2 separate regions of the Homo sapiens genome follow, and region 1 is linked to region 2. The links are contacts of gene promoters, found by promoter capture Hi-C in human tissues and cell types (Jung and others, 2019). All regions are on one chromosome and are shown on one strand. The core of a region is centred on a gene start or on the middle of the fragment in contact, and the rest is flanking DNA. Distances in the headings are between cores, read along the strand shown. Region 1 has its middle 100 kb from the start of RPE65. Region 2 holds the start of DIRAS3 (DIRAS family GTPase 3).

The links. The method cuts DNA at HindIII sites, captures the fragments that hold promoters and counts their contacts. A contact is called where the count stands out against the background at its distance.
Region 1: a contact is called between a fragment that was not itself captured here and the fragment with the promoter of DIRAS3 in region 2, in 2 of the 25 tissues and cell types used here (H1 embryonic stem cells and mesendoderm cells).

Annotation. Positions count from the first base shown.
Region 1 is chr1:68,345,401-68,351,120 of GRCh38, forward strand. No RefSeq gene overlaps it. Among named protein-coding and RNA genes, the nearest start is that of RPE65, 100 kb to the right of the region's middle. The HindIII fragment of the contact is 6,161 bases long and covers 393-5,720 here.
Region 2 is chr1:68,049,173-68,054,472 of GRCh38, forward strand. It overlaps DIRAS3 (DIRAS family GTPase 3), which reads right to left and starts at 1,455. Exons shown (of 2, transcript NM_004675.5): 1 at 1,376-1,455. The region is part of intron 2 of GNG12-AS1 (GNG12, DIRAS3 and WLS antisense RNA 1); the gene reads left to right. It also overlaps the pseudogene ARL5AP3. The HindIII fragment of the contact is 12,521 bases long and covers 1-5,300 here.

The sequences.
Region 1 (5,720 bases), core at 2,223-4,722, 300 kb after region 2:
TATTGCAGGAAAAGTTATAAGTATTTCAAAATGAATCAGCTTGAAAAACAAAAATCCTAATTCTTTAAAACAAACAACACTGTTTATTCAGCCAATTATAATATGTCGTTGATTTGGCAAAGGTAAACAAAATTAATTTAGAAAAAAAGAAGAAATCTAATTTCTAAGATGACTAGCAAGTCTGAAGCAATCTATTTTCAACTAGGAAATACAAAAGAAACCTACAACTAGTTGTCTTGTTAAATGAGAAGTGATAATTAATGTTTAGAGTCAAAGCACAAACATCCTCCAACTGCTGTTTTCATGGCATGATATCTTTGGCAAGGCTTTTGCTTCCCTCTTAATTGTGCATTATATATTTGGAGCATTTCTTATTGTATTAAACACCTTTTGGGTGCTTCTCACCTATCTTTGAGGTCTTTGGCCTCTTGTTCCAGCCCCAGCTGTGGAGCAACCTGCTGTGCATGAAGTGGGATCAGTTCCACCGGAGAACAACCTGACATCTCTTTGCCTTATGTCCTCTCTGCATATGTTTCACCTTCTGTTCTGTAGAGACTGAGGTGTGAGACCTCAAGGACATGCTTAGTGTCAATATATGTGCAACTTAATCATATGAGAGGAATTTATATCTTCCTGGGTGAAGACTGAGCCAGTCTGGATGGACTGTTCTATGAAGCAGTTTTTTACATGGCCTGTTGGTGAAAGGCACTGTAAGATCAAGGAATCAGTAGTTTTTAATACCAAGAGATGACCAGCTCAGTAATATGTATTCTTGTATCAGCTCTTACATTTCCCCTGCCTCACTCTCCTTTTCCCTCACTCTTGCTTCCTGGGATTGCATCCTATAATAAAGTAGTAGCACGTAAACTTTGTCTCAGGCACTGCTTTCTGGAGAATCCAGATTAAGACAGTTGTTCAATGATTGTTGAAAGGTATGGGAAAATCAAAGATACTTGTTTTGTGTTTTTATTTTGAGGCTTAGCACCCCCTAGTGGAATTTATTTTTCACTTTCATTCATACCGAGAGCCCCCAAAAGGTTTCTTGTGTACCATTAAGTCTTCTCAGGCAGAAATAGGTCTGGCTAAAACACCAGGAGATAAAGAAGGCTGCATATAGATGCCAGAGTCATTACATATCTCTATTAATACCTGGAGGAGTCCGTAACACAATGAAAAAACTAAGACTAACTCAATCCACATCATGTAATGTGAATGAAATATAAGTAAAAAAAAAAAATCAATTCTGATTGTTTTATAGCAATTCATCTGTTGGACTTTCCAGAGAACCTTCATGAGAAAACAGATTTTCTTGAATGTGTCTGATGTTGCTTTTGCCCCATGCAGTCTGTGTTTTTGTGTCAAGCAGGTTGTTACTGGTAGCCCATAGTCTTGACCTCTGCCAGTGCTCGGAGCTCATTTCAAGTACCCCATCTTTATCAATGAGGATTTCATCTTCTTAAATGTCCACCACATTGAGCCTGTTGTTAATCTCAGAAATTGTGTTCAGCTGTAAGAGATAATTTTATGTTGTTTTTGCTGCCCAATATCCATTTATCCTTTTTGTGGCAATGGTAGCTGATTCTTTGTTGGGATATGTAATCCTCCTCCACTTTCATCCATAAACTTTTTTTTTTCTTTTTCTTTTTTTTTTTTTTTTTTTTTTTTTTTTTTTTTTTTTAGACAGGGTCTCGCTCTGTCACCCAGGCTGGAGTGCAATGGTGTGGTCTCGGCTCACTGCAACCTCCTGCTCTCGGGCTCAAGCACTTCTCCTGCCTCAGCCTCCCGAGTAACTGGGATTACAGGTGCCTGCCACTGCGCCCGGCTAATTTTTGTATATATATATTTTTAGTAGAGACGGGATTTCACCATGTTGGCCAGGCTGGTCTCGAACTCCTGACCTCGTGATCCGCCTGCCTTAACCTCCCAAAGTGCTGGGATTACAGGTGTGAGCCACTGCGCCCAGCCCTCATCCATAAACTTCTTTTTGAAAATGCCTTAAGTTCAGGGTCCGGGGTATAATTAGCATATTTCATCACCACAGTGAATAGTTCAGGATTGAGCATATACCCAAATTGAGACTATAAATGCTGAGGATATTTGGTTTTGCATTTTTTTGTTTGACATTTTGAGAAGAGACTTTCCTCTTTCACTGAACTAGTTCTTGTGATGATGTGAGCCTGCTGCCACCGGAAGCCACCTTGCAAAGTCTGAGAATGCAACCAACATAGAGGAAGTAGAACTGAGAAGTGAAGCCAGCTGGACTTCCTGGGCCAAGTGGGGACTTGGAGAACTTTTAAAAAAATTATTATTATTATACTTTAAGTTCTAGAGTACATGTGCACAATGTGCAGATTTGTTACATATGTATACATGTGCCATGTTGGTGTGCTGCACCTATTAACTCGTCATTTACATTAGGTATATCTCCTAATGCTATCCCTTCCCCCTCCCCCCACCCCACAACAGGCCCCGGTGTGTGATGTTCCCCACCCTGTGTCCAAGTGTTCTCATTGTTCAATTCCCACCTATGAGTGAGAACATGCGGTGTTTAGTTTTGTCCTTGTGATAGTTTGCTCAGAATGATGATTTCCAGCTACATCCATGTCCCTACAAAGGACATGAACTCATCCTTTTTTATGGCTGCATAGTATTCCATGGTGTATATGTGCTACATTTTGTTAATCCAGTGTATCATTGATGGACATTTGGGTTGGTAACTTGGAGAACATTCCTGTCTTACAAGAGGATTGTAAAACGCACCAATCAGCACTCTGTAGCTAGAATTGTAAAATGCACCAATCAGCACTCTGTAGCTCGCAAGGGGATTGTAAAATGCATCAATCAGCGCTCTGTAAAAACATACCAAACAGTGTTCTGTAGCTAGCAAGAGGATTGTAAAATGCACCAATCCGTGCTCTGTAGCTAGCAAGAGGATTGTAAAATGCAACAATCAGCACTCTGTAAAATGCACCAATCAACACTCTGTAAAATGCACCGATCAGCAAGATCCTAAAAGTAGCCAAATGCAGGGAGTATTGAAAAAAGGGCACTCTGATAGGACAGAAATGGAACATGGGCGGGGCCAATAAGGGAATAAAAGCTGGTCACCCCAGCCAGCAGCAACAACCTGTTCGGGTCCCCTTCCATGCTGTAGAAGCTTTGTTCTTTCGCTCTTCACAATAAATCTTGCTGCTGCTCACTCTTTGGGTCTGTGTCATCTTTAAGAGCTGTAACACTCACCGTGAAGGTCCGCAACTTCATTCTTGAAGTCAGTGAGACCATGAACCCACCAACAGGAACCAACTCTGGACACAGAACTAAGGAATGGCTCCTGGAGGCATCATTTTATTCCAGAATGAGGCCACTGCTGAAGTCAGCCCTTTTTGTATATTTTACAATTACATTAGCCAATAACTTCCCTTCTTTGTTTAAGCTAGATTGAGTTGGGCTTTTTAATCACTTTCAACTAAAAGATTCCTAACTGGTAAACTGTTCAATTCTGAACTTATAGCCTTGTTCCAACTTGATTCTCTCTTGGTATTTATTATTTTAGTGATTGCAATTATCATCCATCCAGTTGTGCCAACTAGAAATTTAGGAGTTATCTTGACACCTTAATTTTTCAGTTTCCATATCTAATTCACCACTGAATTTTGGATATTTTGTCATTTAATCATATTTTGAAATGATCTAATTTTTATTCCATATCCACACTCTAGTTCAAGATAGCCACATCTCTCACTTGAACTGCTACTACTACTAAAATAATATTACACCTAACCTTCTCTGAGCTCCTCATCCATTCTCCCATCTGTTTTCCATTCTTCATCCAGAGGGATTTTTTTCAAAGTACAAATCTGACCATATAATGTCCCTTTATTCCAGTCCTCCTATTAAAACCCCAAAGTTACTCTTAGAATAATGAAAACTCCTAAGAAAGTTTGACTCTCACCCATCTCCTTCATCTCAGTGACACTAAAGTCTACACTCTAAAGTCACTGAGGGCCACTGCATAAGTTGATTCTTCTGCCCGGAATGATCTTTCTTCCCCTTTTCAGATCTCAACTTTGGGCCATTTTTTTGATTAAACCTCGTCTGGCCTCCATGATTAAGTCAAATAACAGTATTCCAGAATTCATATCACTGTGTGCTTGGTTTGGGATCTATCACAAACTAGGGGTGATATCTGTTTCTTGACTACATTTTTATTCTTTTAACATGAATGAGATAGTTAAGACAGAAACCAGTCAAAAGAATTCACAAAGCATTTTTTCAACTACGAAAAGCAATGTCCAAATGATAATTTATCTGCATTGCTGTCTGTCTGAAAGAGGTCTTGATTCCCAGAGTGGGTGTTGATGGGACAAACGTGGTTGAATGGTAGGAATGCGAAAGAGGCAGGAGGACGTGAATGTGAAAATCGATTGACGTAGAACAGATGAACCAGGCATTCTATTATTTTCTATAACTTGCTGAATGGGAATAGGTTGTGACTGATCTTATTATTAACCCTGGCTTGGAGAAAAATCCTTATAATTTCACTCTAATGTCAAAGTTTGAAGCCTATACAGCCATCCCAGGATAAACTGAACAGATCCTGTGGCAGCTATTGGTGTATGCTGCTGTTATTTTCCTTGAAGTGGGAACACTCTGCAAAGAGAAGAGTCAGTTGACAGCCTCTAGATGCTGCAGGTTTGGGGTCCATTGAAGTGAGCGTGATGAGGCTATATGGTCTCTGGGCTGCTCTCAGACAGTAACTGAGCATGGCAGGGGTACTAGAGCTTAGCCATTCTTGTCCAAAATGGGATTCCTCTAATGGGATAACTTTGCTCTGGGGTGCCTTGTTGACCTGGTCAAGACTCTCAGATCTGCATCACAGTCTGGAGCTTTGCCTTACCACTTTTCTTCCCTTCCTCTTTCTTTTCATAGGTCGCAGATGAGCATCATGGTCTGAAGCCCCTTCCCTCCTACTCCTGTTCCTTTTCCTTTATTATTCATAGTCATTTACCCCAATTCATCATTTGCAGATCTAATTCTGCCTTGGTATCTGCTTCCAGGAGGATCTGAACTGACACACACATTCACTTGGGAGCTACTTATGGAAGAAAAGGATGTGGAATGTTTTCCTCTCTCCTTTCACTGTATCTGGAGGGAGGAAAGTAGATTTGGTGTTAGGGAAGCAGGTTTCTTTTGGCTACCTGTATGTTGGTGATGGCTAGTTTGCTGCACATTCCAAAGCTGATCATCACCATCCATCAATTTCATCAATATCTCCTGATGTGGGGGACCTATAGATTTGGATGGTGATGAACATGGCCCTGAGCCACTGTCTAGGCATCTGCGGTTTCTGTGAAGTTTTACGATGCATCTTCCATCTGAAGCCATCTTACTTACAACTCCCATGCATGTGCCTCTGATGCATGCGGTCGATTTGGCACAAGCCTTCCCTTCCATCCCTACCCATCTTTTGATGTCCCTATTGTGATCCAATTGTTTATACCTCTCAGGAGACATGGTGTGTATGTGGCGAGAGTAGCTTTGCGGCTAAGCCTTGCCCTCTTCTGCCAATACCCATCCCTTCCTTCCAAAATGCTTTTCCCTAAGTTTTGTTAGGAAACCCTGAGACTAAGCAGACCAGAAGCTGGTAAGCAAGATGCCAGTCTCCTGTTCCTGTGGTGCCACTGTACCACTGTAGTATGGCTGTCTAATGGATTCCCCCA
Region 2 (5,300 bases), core at 205-2,704:
AAAATTTAAGTAGATGATTTTATATTCTTGATTAAAGGGGGCCAGGGAGGTTAATACAGTAAATATTTGAAATTGATATAAAATAAATACATACATATATCTAAACCATTCATTTTTGCAGCTTTCAGGTAAAATCTAGCACTTTATTCCAGTCTATGAGATGTGGTTAGTTGATATCATCTAATATTAAGTAATGACATCAGCTATCCAAATCCTGGGCACAATTCCTTTAGCAATGATGACCTTTAATAGAATTTAGCTTAAAAAACTAGGAGATTTCTGCTACAGTGATGCAATCTTTCACATCTTATTTATTAACAAAAATCAACAATCCAGCTTTCCTTAGGTCTTCACGCACTAAGAGTTCTCTAGTCACAGAAATCCTAGCCTTGTCTGCACTCTCCACAACTATTATAAACTCCATGTTAGTATCAAGAGTTCCAGTAAAGACCAAATATCTCTTGGCCACCAACATCCCACATTAGGAAATGTGCATTACTAATTATTCTGTTTTACATTACTTCCTGCTCTAGGGGATGTATGTACAAATTCATTCATAGAAAATTGGTAAAGCAGCCGGGCGCATTGGCTCATGCCTGTAATTCCAGCACTTTGGGAAGTCAAGGTGGGAGGATCGCTTAAGCACAGGAGTTCAAGACTAGCCTGGGTAACATAGGGAGACCGCCGTCTCTATCAAAAAGAAAATAAAAGAAAAAAAATTGGTAAAGGACACACGTGATAACTGAAGTTTCCAGATGTGAAGAGAATTCTCATTCTCAGGCAGTGGACCCCCCCCCCCACTCCCCTCCACACTCCTTCCACCTTCCCAGGCCACCTGGCCTCAGGCTGAGGGGGAGGTGAAAGTTTCCAGGAACCAGAGGGCGTCCAAACCCAGCGGCCGTGCGGAGCTCAAGGTCCCGCCGCTGCTGTTGCGGCACCAGCCTGGCTCATGGACATCACCACGCACCTGCAAGGTCAGGTTTCTCTCTGGTGGCTGTGGCGGCTGCTACCCTCCTCGCCCATTTCAATCTTACTTTCACACTACATGACTCCACTATTACTTCCTGAACACTAGCTACCTACGCAGCTGTAATAGTGGACACTGTGTCAACCTTTAAGCTCGCACACTTATCAAACCTCGTTCTTCTATATTAAAAAGTGCTAGCTTCCCAACGGGACTATCCAAAGTGCAGTTGCAGGACCTGCCAGGAGCCCGCAGGGCTGCGGGTGGTTCTTGCGTAATCGCGCCAAGAAAGACCTGGTTCCAGTTTCAGGGACAACTCGCCCATAAACTTCTACTGCGCAACAGCATCTGCTGCTTTGTCTGACACTTGTTGTTTTCAAGTACCCCTAAAAAAGCGAAAGAAAGACTTACCTTTCTCGGAGGCACGAACCAAGCAGCCTAGAAGACAAATGCGCTGCTCGGAGAGACTGCCGCGGCAACCAACTGGACACCCCAAGAGCTCACTCCTCCGCGGTTTTATATTCCGACTTGCGCACAGGAGCGGGGTGCGGGGGCGCAGGGAGTGTGGGTAACAGGCATAGATTCCGCTTGCGCAATACGTGGTAAGAAACCAGCTGTGAGGGGCTGGCCCAACGCAGAGCGGCGCGAGGTCCGCTTGGCATCTACAACAATCGAGGGGCTAGTCCAGAAGTTCAAGGCGGGGTTACAGGTTGGGGAGGAACTGTTAAACTGTGGACTTTTTCTCACCTGTTGGAATAAGCTTCAGGCAAAACTTTGCCAACAAAAACCGGTCCAACTGATTTTAGACGAAAGTCCAAAAGCAGTTTAATGCAGGACAGATAATCTTTTCCACAAATGATACTGAAAAGACAGGACATCTATAGATTCCCCCCCGCCAAAAATAACCCTTACATAAAAATTAAGTGGCTAGATATAACTGTGACGAGTAAAATTACAAAACGGTTTTAAAAAACAACAAACTATTGTCTAAGGCTAGGCAAAAGGTTCTTAAATTGACATTAGTGGCAAGACCGGTAAAAAGAAATGTTGATGAATTAGACTCCATAAATTTAAAACTTTTGCTTTGTGAAAGACCCTGTAACGATACTGAAAAGGTTTACCTAGGAGAAAATATTTACAAGCCATATATCTGGCATACAACCAGTATCTAGAATATGTAAATAACTCAAAAATCAATTATTTTTAAAAATCCAATTAGAAAATAGTCAGAAGACATAAACAGACACTTCACTGAAGATATGCAGATGGCAAATAACCATATGAAAACCTTTAATGTCATTAGCCATTAGAGAAATGGGAATACGAGGCTTTCGTTGTTCTTCGCCTCCCACTAGGGCGGGTTGAGGGTCTGGCTCCAGTAGCCCCGGGTGCCTCTCACTCCTTGGGCGCAATGCTACTATCCTGGCAGAACCCTCGCCGAACCCTCGCAGGACGCCCCATCGGGTCCGCCAGCGGCTAGGAAGCCCGATTGTGTCGTTCCTTTTTCCCTCTGCGCCTCCCACCGCCAGTCCCTTTTCCAAATGCGCCTGCGTCTGCCCTCCACATCTCCGAGCTCCGTCTGGCTTCTTTCTCCCTTGCCTGTGAGCGCCTGGCGGCGGATGCATTGAAAGCTGCGCACCACCGCCTACCGAGCGTTTTGGGGAGTGTGTGGAAGTTGTTGGCAGCAGGTTTTGACAGCAGTACCCTATGGGCCTAGTCGTTGACGGTAGCACCTGGTTTTGTGTGCCCCAGCCAGCTGAGGCCAGGGTGTGTGGTGTGGGCCACTGGTACTGCTCTTCTGCCACTATAATCCCTCCCCCTACCAGGTACCTGGTGCGTAGAAGTCTAAAGACCTGTGAGGTCTAGCCTGGCGCCTGTAATCCTAGAGAATAAGGAGGTTGAGGCCAGGAGTTAGAGACCAGCCTGGGCAACATGGGGAGAACTTGTCTCTACTTTAAAAAAATTTAGCCCAGTGTGGTGGTGGCCGCCTGTAGTCCCAGCTATTTGGGAGGCTGATGTGGGAGGATCACTTGAGCCTCCCACATCAAGGAGATCGAGGCTGCAGTGAGCCGTGATCACAGCCACTGTACTCCAATCTGAGCAACAAAGTGAGAACCTGTCTCAAAACAAATTCCAACCTGATTCTGGTATAGCATCACATGACAGGTAGCAGCCCTAAGGGCGATCAAAGTATTTTACCCCAAAATATATTTCTGACATATTTTGGAATGGTCCTGTGCAAAGCTATCTTTTGCGAGGGAAATTTGTGTTCTGTGGACAATCTCCTTCCCTTTCCAGGTCTTTCTCTGATCCGGGAGAGATTTAACTAAGAGTCTGACACCGTTTAAGGTCATTTACCTTTTGAGGTACATATGCCATCTATTCTTTCTGAAGCATATTACAGGCTTCACATATGTAACAAGAACCCTGGCTTCCACAACCTCCCTCCTGCCACCACTGGCCAAACCCCTCCTCCTCCAAAATGTACCGGCTTTCCAGGTCAAACCAATGTATACCTTACATATATTGACTGATGTTTTTGCCTGTATCTTCTGTCTTCCTAAAATGTATAAAAGAAAACTATAGTCCAAACACCTTGGACACATGTTCTCAGGACCTCCTGATGCTGTGTCACAGGCCGTGGTCACTCATATTTGGCTCAGAATAAACCTCTAAATATTTTACAGAGTTTGGCTTTTTTCACTGGGTTTCCCCACTCATTTTATTGGCATTAGCTCATACTCTTTCTGTCCAATCATATTTCTACATTGCTGTCTATATTTTATTAATCCTAAGTTAAAAATAGACAATTTCCTCTATATGCTTGGGTCATCATTCTGCAGGCTCCCATGTATACATATTAAATACATTTGTATGCTTTTTCTCCAATTAATCTGCCTTTTGCAGGTTGATTTTTCAGTGAGCCTTCACTGAAGTTTCCCTTTGGTCCCTGCACTGGTAATTAACTCAAACTGTTTTACCAAAATTTGATTCATAGCCTTTATCTCATTTTACCAGAAAAATAATTTGGATCCAACTGTTCTCTATAAACCAGCAAGTTTATATGTTTTACTATCTCACAACTAAAATTCTAAAATAAAAGCTAGAAGACCTTTATGTGTATATTTGTTTAAATATATTTACACATATGTACATGTATTATGTTGTATGTTATGTCTACATAATAAAATTCAGTGTGGTAGGCCAAAAATCCCTTAAGAAATGTTAATCTGATTGGTTTAAATAGATGGGCACTCACACAAAAACATAGTAATTAACCTAATTTTTTTAGTTCATGTAACTTAATCTTTAAAAAAGTAATTGGTTTTAAAATTGTTGATAAAATAAAATTAAAAACGTCTTTCTAATTGTCAATATATATTTTTGCCTGTGTTTACTGGTGTGGGGGCTATGGCTCTCAGCCCCCCAAAGATTTGCTGGAAAATCACTGACATGGGCCACATTGATTAGTAAGAGAAAAGACATACAAATGTATTTAATGTGTATACACAGGAGCTTTCAGAATAAAGACCCAACTTCTCAATGAGTTATAGAAGTTTATACACTAGTCTTGAAATTACAGAAAGAATGGGGGGCTTGGATTCTGGTAAAACAGATTATGGGAGGAGAAGAGGAATTTATTGAGGGGCAATGAATGATTGGTGAGAGAATGATTGGATTGAGCAACAGATATTAACTTGTAAATAGTTTTCTTTGGAATTTAAATAATCCTTGGAGGCAGTCATTGTACTTCTATAAAGGTCTGCTTGGGTGTGGTTACATTTTGGTCTTCTTTTCTTTAACAGATGAGATAACAGGAGGAGGAGAACCAACAATTGCTCTCCTTGGTGGGTCTGGTTGTTAGGCAGATAAAGGAACTTCAGCTTCTTTGGGAAGGATGGTGGGGTTGGAGGAAAAGTCAGAGAGACCTTGAGGCTTCTTTAGTTTAGCGTGTCAAATACCATGTTTTGGCATATCAGTTTCTGAGCACCAGCACTGGTCAGTTTTATATTTGCCTGTGCTATTAAGGTCATGAAGCTATAAACCAGGCCTAAAGCAAAGTGATATATATTTATGCAATTCTTTGATAAATAAGATTAATTTAATATTATTTAACAAAAACAGCTGTGGCTGGGTAGTGACTCCCACCTGCAATGCTAAAACTTGGAGAGGCCAAGGTGGGAGGATCACTTGAGCCCAGGAGTTTGAGATCAGCCTGGGTAACATAACAAGACCCAATCTCCATAAAAAAATTTAAAAATTAGCCAGGCATGTGCCTGTGATCCCAGCTACTCTTAAGGCTGAGGAGGGGGGATCCCTTGAGCCCAGAGTTCAA